Linked DNA regions of Homo sapiens: regions 2, 3 and 4 are each linked to region 1. Evidence: promoter capture Hi-C in 16 types of primary human blood cells and fetal thymus (Javierre and others, 2016). All regions are on one chromosome and are shown on one strand. The core of a region is centred on a gene start or on the middle of the fragment in contact, and the rest is flanking DNA. Distances in the headings are between cores, read along the strand shown. Region 1 holds the start of GFM1 (G elongation factor mitochondrial 1). Region 2 holds the start of SLC33A1 (solute carrier family 33 member 1). Region 3 overlaps NMD3 (NMD3 ribosome export adaptor). Region 4 holds the start of SSR3 (signal sequence receptor subunit 3).

The links. Contacts are between HindIII fragments. The CHiCAGO score rates a contact against its expected background, and 5 or more counts as called.
Region 2: the fragment with the promoter of SLC33A1 here is called in contact with the fragment with the promoter of GFM1 in region 1 in 7 of 17 cell types (naive CD4 T cells, naive CD8 T cells, fetal thymus and 4 more); the score reaches 9.3 in naive CD4 T cells.
Region 3: a contact is called between a fragment that was not itself captured here and the fragment with the promoter of GFM1 in region 1, in 1 of 17 cell types (naive CD8 T cells). The highest score is 7.1, in naive CD8 T cells.
Region 4: a contact is called between the fragment with the promoter of SSR3 here and the fragment with the promoter of GFM1 in region 1, in 3 of 17 cell types (total CD4 T cells, total CD8 T cells and total B cells). The highest score is 7.4, in total CD4 T cells.

The regions. Positions count from the first base shown.
Region 1 is chr3:158,642,147-158,646,248 of GRCh38, forward strand. GFM1 (G elongation factor mitochondrial 1) reads left to right here and starts at 2,381. Exons shown (of 18, transcript NM_024996.7): 1 at 2,381-2,569; 2 at 3,483-3,635; 3 at 4,019-4,102. The coding sequence starts at 2,489. The HindIII fragment of the contact is 2,960 bases long and covers 19-2,978 here.
Region 2 is chr3:155,852,692-155,856,793 of GRCh38, forward strand. It overlaps SLC33A1 (solute carrier family 33 member 1), which reads right to left and starts at 1,736. Exons shown (of 6, transcript NM_004733.4): 1 at 532-1,736. The coding sequence starts at 1,306. LOC105374174 (a long non-coding RNA gene) reads left to right here and starts at 2,062. Exons shown (of 3, transcript XR_924607.4): 1 at 2,062-2,387. RefSeq lists enhancers at 1,324-1,393, 1,764-2,323. The HindIII fragment of the contact is 4,607 bases long and covers 977-4,102 here.
Region 3 is chr3:161,221,641-161,225,742 of GRCh38, forward strand. It overlaps NMD3 (NMD3 ribosome export adaptor), which reads left to right. Exons shown (of 16, transcript NM_015938.5): 2 at 354-417; 3 at 3,290-3,424. The coding sequence starts at 374. It also overlaps the pseudogene SRP14P5. Among named protein-coding and RNA genes, the nearest start is that of NMD3, 2.4 kb to the left of the region's middle. RefSeq lists a silencer at 1-33. The HindIII fragment of the contact is 2,700 bases long and covers 588-3,287 here.
Region 4 is chr3:156,552,724-156,556,825 of GRCh38, forward strand. It overlaps SSR3 (signal sequence receptor subunit 3), which reads right to left and starts at 2,394. Exons shown (of 5, transcript NM_007107.5): 1 at 2,234-2,394; 2 at 932-1,058. The coding sequence starts at 2,366. RefSeq lists an enhancer at 2,253-2,332. The HindIII fragment of the contact is 5,682 bases long and covers 1,236-4,102 here.

The DNA of each region.
Region 1 (4,102 bases), core at 1,131-3,630:
ACTCACTTGCCACTATAAAGCTTGCCACCAGTGCAGCTTTTGTCACTTGACACTCACTGACAGGGTTTTGATATGAATCTGCAAGCAATTGATTTATTATGGTCTCTGTGCAGTCAAACCTCTTTGCTAATGTTAATCTGTATTTGCAGCTGTTCCCCAGCCCTAGCGGCCACACCTTAGCTCCACCTCAGGTCATCAGGCATTAGATTCTCATAAGGAGTGCGTAACCCAGATCCCTTGAATGGATAGTTCACAAGGGGGTTCACACTCCCATGAGAATCTAATGCCACTGCTAATCTGACAGGAGGCAGAGCTCAGGTGGTAATACAAGTGATAAGGAGAGGGTGTAAATACAGATGAAACTTCACTCGCTCGCCCACTGCTTACCTCCTACTGTGTGGCCTGGTTCCTAACAGGCCATGGACTGATACTGGTCTCTGGCCCAGAGGTTGGGGACTCCTGTGTTAGAACATGTAGATGCCAAGTACCTGTGCCAACCACAGGTCCACCTTTGCATACTTGACCTTACCAGTATTTTATGAATATATATGTACAGCTCCCATGTTACCAGTGAAGGGTCTTGACTATGAGTCATACAGGTTCTTGGCGTTTGAACAAAGAATTGGACAAAACACATAAGCAAAGCAATGAAAGAATGGAGCAATGAAGGCACAGATGTGTTGAAACAAAAGTACACTCCACAGCTCAAGAGCACCTGTTACAGAATTTTCTGGGATTTAAATACCCTCTAGAGCGTTCCCATTGGTTACACCCTATGTAAATGAAGGAGTGGCCCATAACCAGCCTGCTTGGTTGCAGGAGGTGACCAATCAGAGGCTGAAGTGAAGTTACAAAGTTACACATGAGGACTTGGCCTGCTACCAGTCTGATTATTTGCCAGAGGGGACCAGTCAGAGGTACTTTCCATTTTTTCATCTGCAATGCAGTGCATTGGGAGTAGCCTCCGATCCTTTTGTTACTTGGGCATGGAGAGGTGGGGTTTTCCTTTTGGTTCAGCTCTAGGAAGTCAGCAGGGCCTTCGGTTCCCTGTCTCTAGACCCTGTTCTCCTGCCTCACCCATAAAGGGAATTCCCTAGAGATACTAAAGGCTGTCTGTCTCTCTTCTGAGCAGCCCACTCTGCCTCTCAGAGTGTACTTTTGGTTTACAATAAACTTTTTTGCCTACTCTTACTTTGTACTTGCTTTCAAATTCTTTTGTGTGGTGAAGTCAAGCACCTGAACCGGCCCACTGACAACAGCAAGGATAGAAGCAGTGAGATCGGTTACAAGGCTATTACAATAGTTCCCTCCAGAAACGGCAGTACTGAGAGGTGGGGAGAAGTAAGTTCTGGATTTTCTTTTTTTTTTTTTTTTTTTGAGACTCGCTCTGTCACCCAGGGTGGAGTGCAGTGGCGTGATCTCGGCTCACTGCAAGCTCCGCCTCCTGGGTTCACACCATTCTCCTGCCTCAGCCTCCCGAGTAGCTGGGACTACAGGCGCCCGCCACCGCGCCCGGCTAATTTTTTTTTGTATTTTTAGTAGAGACGGGGTTTCACTGTGTTAGCCAGGATGGTCTCCATCTCATGACCTCGTGATCTGCCCGCCTCGGCCTTCCAAAGTGCTGGGACTACAGGTGTGAGCCACCGCGTCCGGCCCTGGATGTCTTTTTGAAAGTAGAGCTTACAGGATATGCTGACTGATTAGACCGGAGATGTCACAGCATGGTGTCAAAGCGACTAATATTTTTGGCTAGAATCACTAAAGTTTACATTTATGAGATGGATAAGACTGTGGAAGGTTTGGGGAAGAAGATCCGAAGCTCAGTTTTGGACCTGTTAGGTTCAACATGCCTCTTAACACATCCAAGCAGAATGGTCAAGGATGCAGTCTTCCACATGGACAGGACATGAAATGTCTGACATCGAACAATAACAAATAACATTTTGACATGAGGAAAAGTATTTGTAATTGTAATTGATAGTTCATTCACTATAATTTGTCCACGTTCTTTTTCAGGCCATGTCATATATATACCTATTAATATTTGTAATAGACAATTTTGCTCTTTTCTACTTAAATTGTTATATACATTTCTCCACATTGCTTTATAGGCCTAACAACCATGTTTAAATTCTGTATCTTCATACAGAGGTAATATTTAAAAAAGAAGACGAAGACAAAAGGACTCCCTTCCCTCACCCATATACCTATGCCGTCTTACTGGGAGCAAACACTTCTTTAGCTCCGCAAAGCGATTGCACTTTCTCTTCCAAGTCGGCAGACGGCGCGCGAGCAGCGTAGGCACTGCTCCGCCTCCAATCCAGTTGCTCTTCTTTCTTTTCCTCACTCTCTTTTTCCTCGCGTCCTTTGCCCCGGAAGTGCTCTTACAACATTGGCTGCCGGCGTGACTTTGACCGCTTCCCGGTGCGTTACCGGCAGCTGAACCCACCCGGCGCCACGGGACTTTGACGCGTGCTCTGCGCTTGCCATGAGACTCCTGGGAGCTGCAGCCGTCGCGGCTCTGGGGCGCGGAAGGGCCCCCGCCTCCCTAGGCTGGCAGAGGAAGCAGGTACCGGAGCATAGAGAGGCTAAATCGGGACCATTCCCGGAACCTTGTGATCCCTTCTGGGCAATGGAAGGCCGTGACACCCCCTGGGTCCTCATGACTGACAGCTCCGAATACTGGCAGTCGCTCGTCAGTGCTGAAAAGCACCTCGGTGCCTGCACATTAGCTCGTTAGCTCGTTTGTTTCGCTCTCTGGTATCCCTAGGGTTTAATCAACTAAAAGTGTCTGTCACTCAGATACTTTGATATTTTATCCACCTTTTCTAAGGTTTTTTTTTTTTTTTTTTGCCTCTCTTTTCCCGTGAATAATTGTGCATTTTGGATGTGCAGTCCTATAGGGAAAGGTTTATATTGTATCTTCATTCCATCTAATAGGGATCCCCATCCCCTGCCACCAGAGTAAAGTTAAAACAAGCTTCATGAATTGTTTTTGTTTGGAGGGAATTGGAAATCTTTGGGGGCTGTCTTGGAGCTACTAGCATCACTGCATAGAGCATATAAGTTCTCAAACATATTTGTCATCTGTGAACTACAATAAAGGAGAAAGGGAAAAAAATTAAGTTAAATTTAAGCTAAAATTTGTATTTTCTATTAAAGTATTTTTTGGAGCTGTCTTTGTGATTTTATCTGCCCCAGTGTGTATTTTCAAATCTGCAGTAAAAAGTGTCTCCCATTTTAATTAAATTTAACTTATTCATTAATTAATTTTAAAAGAATACGTCTTTACTGTCTTGTTTTGAAGTCTGTCCTCTGATTACAAGAGTTCCAGGCTTAAAGGTTTCCCCTGGTGCCTTTCTCAAGCTATCTCATATCCAGTGAGATTTCTTGGAGGAATAATGTCCACCATACTCCTTTTAATTGTCTGTTGTTCTCTCTTATAAAAGGTGCATAGAATTGAGCTCTCGTATTTTTTTCAGGTTAATTGGAAGGCCTGCCGATGGTCTTCATCAGGGGTGATTCCTAATGAAAAAATACGAAATATTGGAATCTCAGCTCACATTGATTCTGGGAAAACTACATTAACAGAACGAGTCCTTTACTACACTGGCAGAATTGCAAAGATGCATGAGGTATATATTCACGGTTGATTCCGGATTAATTAGAACCAGATTTTAATTGTTTTGTTGCTATTATTTAATAAAGCTTATAAACCTGAAAGATTAAAACAATGGTAACAGCGGACTTTTGACAGTTAGGCTTATCTGAAAGTTGCTTAAGTTAAGTATCTGTGTTCTGGTTTTATTTTTATTTTTTATAGAAGAGGTCTCACTTTGTTGCTCAGGCTGGTCTCAAACTCTTGGGCTCAAATTATCATCCTGCCTCAGTCTCCCACAGTGCTGGGATTATAGGCATGAGCCACTGCACCTGGCAACTGTTTCCATTTCAGTTAAGATTTCTTTCCTTCTTGGAATGCAGGGACAGAGAAAGTCTGAATTGCTGTGCTTGTGTTTAGGTGAAAGGTAAAGATGGAGTTGGTGCTGTCATGGATTCCATGGAACTAGAGAGACAAAGAGGAATCACTATTCAGTCAGCAGCC
Region 2 (4,102 bases), core at 486-2,985, 2.8 Mb before region 1:
TCCTAAAATGTTCATCTTCCTTATTTCTTGAGTGCAGAACTCTGCCTTATTCATTAGAGGCCTTAGAATCCCGTCCCTTAGCTGGTTCAATAATGTTTGAACGAATAAACCCTGTTCCATTCACTAGAAGGCTGGATTCTGGGTACAACGGTAGGGGTAGAAATGGATTAGAAAGTATAGAGCTAGAAACCTAAAACCAACAAGACAAAAGGAAAAATGTGAACCATATGAGCCACACTTTTTAAAAGTGTGCATTTGTGTATTAAGCAAGTGGCATGAATCCCTGGACTCGGTTGTGTTATTTGATGGGTTGCCTCTCCCTGTTAACCGCATAGTGATCATTTGATTGCTCTAATATCATTCATTTTGGCTTTAATATTTCAAAGAAGCTCATTTGGACGAAACAGAAAACTTACCTTGAGTTATCTCCCATACAATGATTTCCAGTAAATTAATGAGCTTCCCTCCAACGTCACACACTCTTTCAAAAGGATAAATAAACCTAACACCATAATAGCTTAAATACACTACCTGAAAGAGTAACGATTCCTCTGGGTTGAGGCTGAAACCGCAAATATTTGTTACAAAAGTCGGCAGATTCAAGGGCCAAAAACAAAACATTGCCCAAAAAGTAACCCGCTGTTTGGCCCACCGAATTGCAAGTAGAAGCATAACCCACATTTTCCCTGGATAACATAGTTAACGCCCAACCATCGACGGCAATGTCCTGAGTGGCGGCCAAGAATTCAAACAAAAAGAACGCCACAGTGAGAGCAATCACGTCGGGTGTTCTGTCATCGGTATTCCCAAGCAAACGGTCCACCTGAGTGGATAAATAGATCATGAAGAGTCCTAGTATATACTGTGTCGGGACAAGCCAAGATTTGCGACGACCGAAGTTCTTAACGTAGACCGCATCAACCAACGGGGCCCAGAGTAATTTGAGACTGAAGGGCCAAAAGACAAAACTGAAGAAAGCTTGGTCTGTATAGCTAACATTTTTGCTTTGCAAAATGAGTGGGATGCTTCCCGCCAAGCCCAGGGGAATACCCTGAAGCACGTAAAGAAAGAGTAGTAGCAAAATGCTGCTTAGTTCGGCCCGGAAGCTCTGTGGGGCTTTTAAGAAGTCGCCAGTGCCGGTATCCCCCAGAAGAGCTTCTCTGTCCCCTTCCCGGCCCGCTGAGTCCAAATGACTGTCATCCCAACCGCCTGGCGGCAGGGGACCGCTCTTCATATCCAGAGAGTGACTGAAATTCCCTGGCCGCCGTTGCCGGCTGCTGTCCTTGTGGGAGATGGTGGGTGACATATCAGAGACGATGCAGAGCCCCGTCTGTGGGGGGCCGAGGCTGAGCGTTTTGGATCCGTCCAGTCCCAGGTCCAAGGCTGTCGCGCTGGACCAGGGTTTCGGTGGTTCACGGGATGGTGGCAGGGCTCAGAGCGATAAGGGCACTTCTTACTGCAGCCCGGAGTGCTGAAGCCGGGAGCCAGTCCTCTGGCTAGAGGCCCAGAGGATGCCTGGATAGGTGCCCCCTGGAACGGCGTCAAAGAGCCTGAAGGAGACCCCCGGGCAGCAGCGCCGGGCTCGAGGCTGGAGGTGTGTGCCGTGGTGCCAGGATGGAAACCAGCTCCTACCTGCGGCGGGATCGAACGGCTGGTCTCCCGACCCAACACCTCCAGCTCTCGCTGCTATCAATGCGGCAGAGAGCACTTTCTCTACAGGACTCCAGAAAAAGCATATAACTTCCTGCCTCGCGCTTCAGGAAGTGGTCCCAGTCTCTAACAGGTCCCTTCCCAGCCTCCAGAGCAAGCCAATCAGGGACACGCTCTCGTGGCCCAGTTCGGAAACAATGCTTGGTGGGAACCTGCAATCTTGGCTGCCGGAACCTTCGGGGAGGATTAACGCCGGCGCACCGTGCGGCCGGGGCGGGGCGCCGCCCAAACTCAGGCCCTGTGACAGCGACTGTGGCGGTCTGGAAAGCGTGGGCCTCGGTCATTGGGCACGAGCGGTCACGTGACAGCGGGTTCCTCCAGGCCAGCGCTGGTGGTTGAGTGATGTAATCACGTGGGGTCTGAAGTCTTCGTGGGTGTAGGTTTCTTCGTTATGCTGACGACAGGCAGTGCCCGAACTCTAGGCTGGGAGTTGTGCCATGCTGCTGCTTTCGTGGGCTGACCAGAAAAGGGTAGAAGGATTGACGTTTACGAAGTTTTTGAATCAGGAGGCAAGGTCGCCTTGTGCCCCCAAAAGGATAGAAAAAGGCCTGGCAAACTGGAGAATCGCGTCCTTACGGTGCCTACATATTTATAGTACGAATTAAACTGCTCAAGGGGTGCTAGGTTTGTCTGCAGTCCGTTTCTCCCTCATGGTGGAAGACGCGTGGGGAAACTTGGTAACCAACTCTAATTACATTGGTGATTGGAAGACTCGTTACATCCTGTTTTTATGTTGCAATAAAACGTCTTGTGGCCGGGCGCGGTGGCTCACGCCTGTAATCCCAGCACTTTGGAAGGCCGAGGCGGGCGGATCACCTGAGATTGGGAGTTCAAGATCAGCCTGACCAACAAGGAGAAACCCGTCTCTACTAAGAGACGTACAGGAATTTGAGAATCTGATTAATTTTTTTTCTGCTCTCTCACCTCTGGCAGAAAGATTATTATTTTTTTTTCTTTTGAGAGGAATCTCACACTGTCGCCTGGGCTGGTGTTCAGTAGGGCCATCTCGGCTCGCTGCAGCCTCCACCTCCCGGGTTCAAGCGATTCTCCTGCCTCAGCCTCCCGAGTAGCTGGGACTACAGGCACGCGCCACCACGCCCGGCTAATTTTTGTATTTTTAGTAGAGACGGGGTTTCACTATGTTGGCCAGGCTGGTCTCGAACTCCTGACCTCGTGATCCGCCTGCCTCGGCCTCCCAAAGTGCTGGGATTACAAACGTAATGGCAGGCTAGGCACAGTGGCTCACGCCTATAATCCCAGAACTTTGGGAGGCCGAGGCGGGTGGATCACGAGGTCAAGAGATTGAGACCATCCTGGCCAACACGGTGAAACCCCGTCTCTACTAAAAATACAAAAAATTAGCTCGGCCTGGTGGCGCGCGCCTGTAGCCCCAGCTACTTGGGAGGCTGAGACAGGAGACTCGCTTGAACCTGGGAGGCGGAGGTTGCAGTGAACCGGGATCGTGCCACTGCAATCCAACCTGGCGACAGAGTGAGACTCCGTCTGGAAAAAAAAAAAAAAGGCAACTGTAAAGTCCTCTAATCTTTGTTAAGTAGAAGAATAGATTGCAGAAAAGAACAGTGTTGGCCGGGCGCGGTGGCTCACACCTGTAATCCCAACACTTTGAGAGGCTGAGGCGGGCAGATCACTTGAGGTCAGGGGTTCAAGACAAGCCTGGCCAATATGGTGAAACCCTGTCTCTACTAAAAATACAAAAATCAGCTGGGTGTGGTGGCTCATGCCTGTAGTCCCAGATACTCGGGAGGCTGGGGCTGGAGAATCGTTTGAACCCGGGAGGCGGAGGTTGCAGTGAGCCGAGATCATGCCATTGCACTCCAGTCTGGGTGTTAAAGAAAAGAACGGTGTCATTTAAGTCCAATCAAGATTAAACCAAAACAACCATGAGTGGGATTTATATTGTGCTGGATTCAAACCCTGGCTCTAACAGTAGTTGTGCCTTGGACAGATTACTTAACCTAAGCCTCCATTTTGATGAAAATTAAAATAGAGTTCATAACATCTATTTCAGAGAGTTGTGGGAGTTAAAGGAAGCAGCCAATAAAGCCATTCACAATCAGTAGGTGTTTTTTTTTTTTCCAAAAAAAAAGGAAATACTTGATGAGTTTGTATGTCTTGTGTTTGATTTTTTCCCCTTCTTTAATTTGAAATAATTATAGATTCACAGGAAATTGCAAATATAGCAGAGTCCCATATACCCTTCACCCACCTTCCTCTGATCATTGCCTCTTACGTGATTATAGTACAATATTAAAACCAGGAAACTGACATCTGTAAAATATTGTTAACCAGACCACAGGCTTTATTCCAATTTCACCAGTTTTTACATGCACTAGCTTGTGTGTGTGTGTGTGTGTCCTGTGTTACCCTTTCA
Region 3 (4,102 bases), core at 688-3,187, 2.6 Mb after region 1:
CCTGGGCTGGTGGAGAGCGGGAGGGCCCGGGCGTCCACAATCCCGAGCTGACCTCGCCCTTGGTCGTCCAGGGTTGGAGCCCAGGTGAGATGGAGGTCAGCGGCAGAGCTGGGTGGCCCGAGGGTCTTGCAGCTGGGAAGCTCAGGAAATCCCATGGTCCTCATCTTAAAGTTCTTTTTAACGAACTTACCCAGTGGAGTTGGGTTTCCTTCTTTCCTGCTTTTTCGAAGTTCTGTGAATATATTAATTATTCAGAGAGACTGGAGGAAGACGTAAAAAGAGGAGACTAGGTAAAGTGATTTAAATCCCAACATTCTCTTTTTTTTTTTTTTTTTTTTTTTTTTTTTTAAAAGAACTTAAGGCATACAGAACGATGGAGTATATGGCAGAATCCACCGACCGCAGCCCTGGACACATGTGAGTGCGACACTTCTTCCTTCCCCCTTAAATGTGAAAATCTTCAGTGAGCCCGGGAAACTCACTATGGAGAACGCTTGAGGGTGGGTGGGAAAGAGCGTATATTGTCATAAATGGGAAAAAATAGAAGTCTTATTTCTGTAGAAAATCGAATTAGTTTCTGGTTATAAAGCTTGTTCTAGTAAATATAAGCTCTAAGAGGGTTAAAATATTTACCATACATCCTTTTAGATCGGCACTGTCCAATATGTAGCCATTAGCTACGTGTGGCTATTTAAATTTACTTTTTACTTACTTTTTTTTTTTGAGACGGAATCTCGCTCTGTTGCCCAGGCTGGAGTGCAGTAGTGTGATCTCGGCTCACTGCAACCTCCACCTCCCGGGTTCAAGCAATTCCCTGCCTCAGCCTCCCGAGTAGCTCGGATGACTTCCTGATTTTTATTGGAGATTATAATGTAGTAATTTTTAAATTTTGAACATCTTAAATCTTAGTTATCAATTTTTAATTTCTTGCATTTAAGTTCAAATTAACTTTTTTTTTTTTGCTGTTAAATAGGTTTAATGATACAGTGCTCTTCAAAGAGATTACTACAGAGACTTTTAAACGATAATCCTGGAATCGTTCAGCACAGACCAATTAGCTAAATCTAAAATAAATTGGCTTCTTACCACAACTACCCTGTAAACATTGTAGTCCTTCTGTCTAGAATGACCCTAATCTCACAGGAAAACAGTAACTATGGAGAAACTAGCTTTGTGGCCAAAAGTAAAAACCAAAGGAAAAATAGGAATTCAGTGGTTAGTGAAAGCAGGAAATTTGGCCCCCTTCCCTGTGATGCTTTACTCTTCCCTTGTCCATCAGTTAGCTCAGTGGGTTTGAATAAGCCATCTGAAAATGTCTTTGGAGCTCAGCATAGTGCTGATCTTCCTTGTTCTATCAGTAGCTTTTAACAGACACTTGTCTAAGGGCTCAAAGCCCTTCACAGAACCCTTTCTTGGAATGGGTTGTTTGACCATTATACTTCCCTCCGGACAACCAGCACTTCTGGAAGAGCCTGGTTAGCTCTGTCAGGAACTGCTTTCTTTCCAGGTGGTACCGCTGGCTCCACTCTGTCAACATAAACCCCAAGCAGTTTAAGTTGGAAGTTTCCTAAATTAATTTAAATGGAATAAAATTAAATACTTGGTTGCTCGTTTGTACTAGCCATGTTGCCACATGTGGCTAGTGGCTACCATTGGACATGGAAGATTATTGAACTTTTATTTTGGACAATGTTGTTCTACATTAGGGGTTCTCAGACTTTTTCTGCCCCCAGTACATCTCGAATTATGATAGTTCCGTCATTTATACTGAGTCTCTAGATGTTGATAGACTTCCTATACTGTTAAAAAAAAAATTCTGCTATGGGTAAATGTTTATATTTCAGCAGTCCTTATGCTTTTTTTTTTTAATTGCCTTTGGAGTATATTGGCGTCTGATTCTGTTAGAAATGATTTAGATATTAGTTTCTATTGGTGTAGTCCAGAGATATACTTGAAGAAATGTTCATTAGAGATAAGTAGACAGCTGTAGTCTTTTAATGTAGTGACACCATACTGTTCACCTAAGCTATGGTCCTCTGTATGCCCTGAATAAATAGATTTTTGAAGACTTAGTATTTAGAGATGAGGTGGTTGAATTAAAAAGAGACAAACTGATCTTACATATTCTTGATACAGGATTTTCTTTTTGGTTTTTGCCATTGACACACTATTGCCTTGTTAATTGATTCTTTCTTGGTTTTCCAATTTTCAACAAGGGATAATGAATAACAGTGCTTCTCAAATTTTTCCCAAGTTTGCTATTACACTTGTGGTTGGGAAGTTTATCTGTTTATTTGTAAAAGTTAATGTGAATGTTTGTGTCTGCATAGAAAATGTTTGGAAGGATATATACAAATTATTAATAAATGTTATCTTTATGGATAGTGTTGGTTGGGTGTGGTAAAGAGCACGTTAACATTTTTAATTATATTTCAGTATCTAAAATTAAAATTAGTGCAAGATTTGTATTCTTCATCAATATACCTCCATTTGTTTTAATGTGACAATATAGTTTCATTTGCTTTTAATAAAAAAGACTTGTTTAGACCCATACTGGCTATTTAAATGTAAATTTGAATTAAAAAAATAAATTGAGTTTCTCAGTTGTACTAGTCACTTTTCATGTCCCAGTTGCCACATGTGGCTAGTGGCTACCTTGTTGTACAGACCAGAATAGAACATTTCTGTCGTGGCATGAAATTCTGTTGGACAGTACTGACCTTCTAGAACCTTTAGGACATCGGCCTTATATTGAGGATTTTTAGAATTATAGCCATTTTTGGTGTTTTTGCCCCTGTATTACAGGGTTATTCTTTATCTACTGCATCTTTGAAGATTGCTTTGTTTCTTTTTTTTGTTTCTTTTTTTTGAGACATTGTCTTGGTCTGTCACCCAGGCTGGAGTGCAGTGGCGTGATCTGGCTCACTGCAACTTCCACCTCCTGGGTTTGATATGCATGCCTCAGCCTCCCAAGTAGCTGGGATTACAGGCGTGCGCCACCATGCCTGGCTAATTTTTGTATTTTTAGTAGAGATGGGGTTTCACCATGTTGGCGAGGCTGGTCTTGAACTCCTTATCTCAGGTGATCTACCCGCCTCAGCCTCCCAAAGTGCTGGAATTACAGGTGTGAGCCACTGGCTGGCCCAGGTTGCTTTGTTTCTGTTATTTTTTTGAAAAGGGCAAAGATGCTGTGGCCTAACTTGAAGGCTTTTGTTTGTTTGGCATCTAAAAAAAAATTTAGTGTATTTTAAAAATCTAATGTGAAAAATTTATCCTTTATTTATTAAAGCTTGTGCTGTGAGTGTGGTGTTCCGATAAGTCCAAATCCTGCCAATATTTGTGTGGCCTGTTTGCGAAGTAAAGTGGACATCAGCCAAGGTATTCCGAAACAAGTCTCGATTTCGTTCTGCAAACAATGTCAAAGGTACAGTGCGGTACAATTTTGCTCTTTTTAAAGTTGGAATTTACATTTAGAGAACCACCGAGATATGCTGAGATTACACGAAGGTATATGGAGTAAAGTGCATGCAATTAAGGTTTAAATTTTCTGTTGGTGTCGCCAAAGATTTTAGAATTTGCAATTTTATAGTGTACTTTTCTAGTGTGTCCTTCTAATCTGGTAAAGATAGTGTAAATGTATTTGAATCTGTTCTTCTGTTAAAGGATCTAATAGATTTGATGTATATAGTTAATAGGAGTTGATGTTTGTAAGGGTGAGAGCAGATTATTGAGGACATATTGTTATTATGAGGTTTTTTTTTCTTTAGTTATTAGAAGCCATGTATGATAAAAAGCTTATGTTTGGAGTAATTTAGTAATATGTTTTAAAAACTCATAACATTCACGTGTAATTAAAATAACTATTGTTGATGGAAAAGAAGCTCAATAAATTATATCTGGAATGGTCTGAAATAAAGATTGGATTTGAAGGAAGAAGACTTCTTCTGAATGTTAATGTTTCATTCCTCTTGATTTTCTTTGTCAGCATAAACAACTTACATCTATTAGGCCATTGAGTAACACAAAACTGCCTAATGAGTGTAAAAGTGTATGCCTGTTATTTCCAAAATGGATTAAGACGCTAACTTTTTGAGTGTGTATC
Region 4 (4,102 bases), core at 1,144-3,643, 2.1 Mb before region 1:
GTACATGAAAGCAACATCAAAGGGCGTCAATTAAACAATTTATACCACTTCCAATGAGACAATGAGGACCATGACGCTGAGAAATAATAAATGTTACCATCTTTCCTAAGTCTACGTGATCCTGCATTTTAACCTCTATGAAACTAGAATATTTAATTGCTTATAATTAAGGTATAAGTTTATTGTGGTGAGGCTTGAGTTTTCTTCTCTAAAAGCTGTATTTTACAGTATGTGTGATCTTAGACTATGTTAATCCTTTACATTTTATACACTTGTATGAAAACAAACGTAATTAGCATTGAAAATGACAGAGAGTTAAAAAAAAAAAAAAGCAATAAAATAAAAAGACCAGCCTGGTCAACATGGCCTGTCTCTACAAAAAAATTAGCTGGGCATGGTAGCCTGCACCTGTAGGCCCAGCTACTTGGGAGGCTGAGGTGGGAGGATCCCTTGAGCCTGGGAAGGTTGAGGCTGCAGTGAACCATAATCATGCCACTGCACTGCAGACTGGGCAAGAACTAGACCTTGTCTCAAAAAATAATAATGACAAAAAGATCATTTCTTTAACTTCCAAAAATAGTACGTGAAGAGCCCAGAACAATTCTCTCCATAAGGAATTACATTTAGCTTCTGAAATGTTAACTTACTTGGTGGGTTTGTTTCTCTGATGAACCTCATATTAAGGCCTGTGTTTAAGTGTTCTAATTCCACCCTCAAAATCTGCTTCTGTAGCCGTGTCAGAATGATCATTGTCTCTACTTCAGTTAGTTAATAATTCTTCCTAGCATCAATGTTCCTTTCCCCCAAAATGTTTATTAATATATATATCTCAAATTAATGCTTATTAAAACCAACACACACAAATGATCTTTAAGAAGACATATAAAAATATAACATGTAGTACGTACTTTCACTTGAAAAACATACTTACTTGTGCTTGAGAACAAATTTCACATTCTTGTATGCAAAGGCTACCAAATATGTGCTTACTAGGGTCATCACACTATACAAAACAGCAGACTGAATAAGATCCATATGCCATATTCGCCAGTATAACCCTGAATTAAAATAAAAGGGGGAAGGGTACAAAAAGAAGCAAAACATTACAACCCCGCAACAAAAGCCTGCGAAATTAATTATAGCTAAGCCTGGTAAAATACCAGGTTATTAGTTATGCAATCCAATAGTATCTGAGGATCTTCAGAAGCGAGATAACCAGTAACAGTATAGTCTCAAGCTTTCCAGTTCAGAACATTTGAAAAACATCACCTTCCTATTACTAGTCCAGATGAGATTTCAACTTCTAAAATGAGAACAAACTCTGGCTCAACGTAATCACAAGTCAGACTTCAAATTTCATTCATCAGGGTACTAGCATGCGAAACACAGGCCATTCCAAAATGCCACGTGCAGCCCCAAACCATAGTTTCCTTGCTGACGTGGCTGTTATCAGAACTCCAAGCAGTGCTATGTCCAATTAGTGAGCCATCATATGGCTTCACATCACGTTAATGGCACGCTGGGTTGTATAAGGACAAAAGAGAAAAATACATTTAGTTTTAAATGCCCAACAACAGTGCAGCAAAAGACAGGAGTTCTGGAAACTTGAGCTCTACTAAAAACGACCTTGTCCAAGTCTGCAGTTTCCCAACCAAGTGAGAATTCTAGAATTGGTCCAGTAGGATTATTAAAAAGTATAAATAAGGTAGATCCCTAACCCCTGGCACTTCAACCTCTCTCTTTTTGCAAAAACCAGGAAAATTATGCAATGGTGTGAAGTAGCTCACGTAAAGATGCACTTATAATTCAGTGGGTCACTTCATGGGTTTCTCACCTAACTAATTTATGCAAAATAAGTAATAAGTTTAAAATTTCGTAACGGCAAGCAACAGTTGTATAGAAAAGGGCAGAGGCAGTATGCTTGAGTTTGTCTGTTTAAATAGAGATTCGGGGCCGCCACCCCAGAACTAGTTAACCACCTTCTCCTGGGGTGGAGCTCGGGAACGTGCGTACTTTTAACAAGTGACCTCCCCGAGTGCTGCACAGGACAATCCCAAGCGACAACACTGTGCCCAAAGAAGAGGCTCCGTGCCTCCCCGAGCTCAGGGGAGCTGGAGAGATTGCCGACCCCCGGCCGGCACCCACGCCTTCCCTGCTCGCCGGGTCCTGCCACGTCCCCGCCCAGCCCGACTAGCCGGCGGCCTGCCTAACCCGCCTCGCTCCCAGCACTCACAGATGGGGATGGCAGACACGATGAACGCGTTTCCGAAGAAGAGCGCGGAGGACTTGGCCGAGAGATTGCGGCTGAAATCCTGCAGGAGCAGGTCCTCCTCAGACTGCTGTTTGGAGCTGCCTTTAGGAGCCATGGCGGAGCTGCAGGCGAGAACAGGGAACGTAGAGCCGGCCGCCAAGGCGGGCAAAGGCCCTTGACTCCGCCCCTGCGGCCGCCGTATCCGCTAACGACCCGTCAGCGCGGCGCGCGGAGGCGGGACCCGGTTTGGCGAAGAGCAAGCGTCCCCAGGATTGGCCAGCTTGGCGCCACTAGATAGGCTTCCGGGCGTGATTGGGCGAGCGGGCCAGACTTCCGGATTCCTGACAAGCCACGTGACCCACCCACCTGGAGGAGAGAGAAGGGATTTGTAGTTTAGTCGGTGCTTTAAAAAAAATTAACAAAACTTTATTGATATTCCACTTCAGAGCTGCTGACAGACTCACGAGTTCTCAGTTCTTCAGAATTCCAAAATTAAAAGCTCTTCTGGCCCCACGCCATTAGTGCCCTCTGTGCGTACCCAGGACTGAGTACGTTGAAGAAGAAAGAAGAGAAAGGTATAGCTAACTCATGTAAAATCCCTTCTCCTTTACACATCCTTTATTTCATTAAATACCTTGAAGAATCTTATGACGTGCGCATCATTACCGCCATTGCAGCTGAAGAGCCTGAGGGTCGTAGACCTGCGGTGTGGGTCTCCAAGGCGTGGGCTCTTTTCACTAAACAATAGGCCACCTCTGTAGGAAGAAGAAAATGGGACTCTTGCTTTTAAGAAACTCATGATCTCATTGATGAAGGCAATATTTAATATATGTCTGATACAAGTTACTACTATTTTATTTTATTTCAACTAGACCTATAGAGTTTTGTGGCTTCCAAAGCCATGCTAAATAAAACATAATACTAAGAACAGGTTGGCTAGGCAAGACTCCCTCTCTGAAGCTCAGAAGGATTAAGTATGTCTATTAAAACAGCTAGATTCCATTTTTAACTCAACACATTATCATTTTTTCTTCAAAAAAAAATTCAACCACATCACTCCCAGCAAATGCTACTTTTGATTACTGAGAACACTCTAGTGCATTAGGCACAATTTCCTCAACCTCCAGCCTCCTTATTAACCGTTTGGTAGATATCTTTCTTCCTCACAGTATCCAAATTGTAATCTACCTCCACAGCTTCCTATTACTAGTCCTAATTGGGCTTTTGTCTTCAATCTTTTCCAGTCTATTCTCTATACAGGTACCAGAGTGAGTTTTCCTGAAATATAAATCCTTCCATTATCTACCGCAAGTGTTCCTTAATGCCAGAAGTTTTCATTAATTCACCACAAAATGAAAAAGAAAAAAAGACCATCTAGTGAATTTTTCAGAAAATCAAAAGTATTCATTTAAAAATATCTGGGTTTATGTCTTTTTTGATGTTAAAAATGCTCTTTATTTTATTACATGGTAGTGATAGAAGAAGAAATTATTATTTTCTCTTACACATACTCCTCCCCCAGTTTTTCCTATCTCACTAAGTTGCATTCTTTTAAACTCATTTGTTGTTCTGGTTAAAATAGTGGGTTTCAACACTAATTATTTTTTTCCTTCTCCATCTATGACCAATTCATAAATAAAACTTTTTGGATCTGTCTCTATAACTAGATTTTCTTCTGCCTATTTATAAACAAACTAAGGATATAAAAAGAAGATAAAAGATAAAAATCAGAGGCTGGGTGCGGTGGCTTATGCCTGTAATCCCAGCACTTTGGGAGACCAAGGTGGGTGGATCACAAGGTCAAGAGACCGAGACCATCCTGGCCAACATGGTGAAACCTCGCTTTTACTA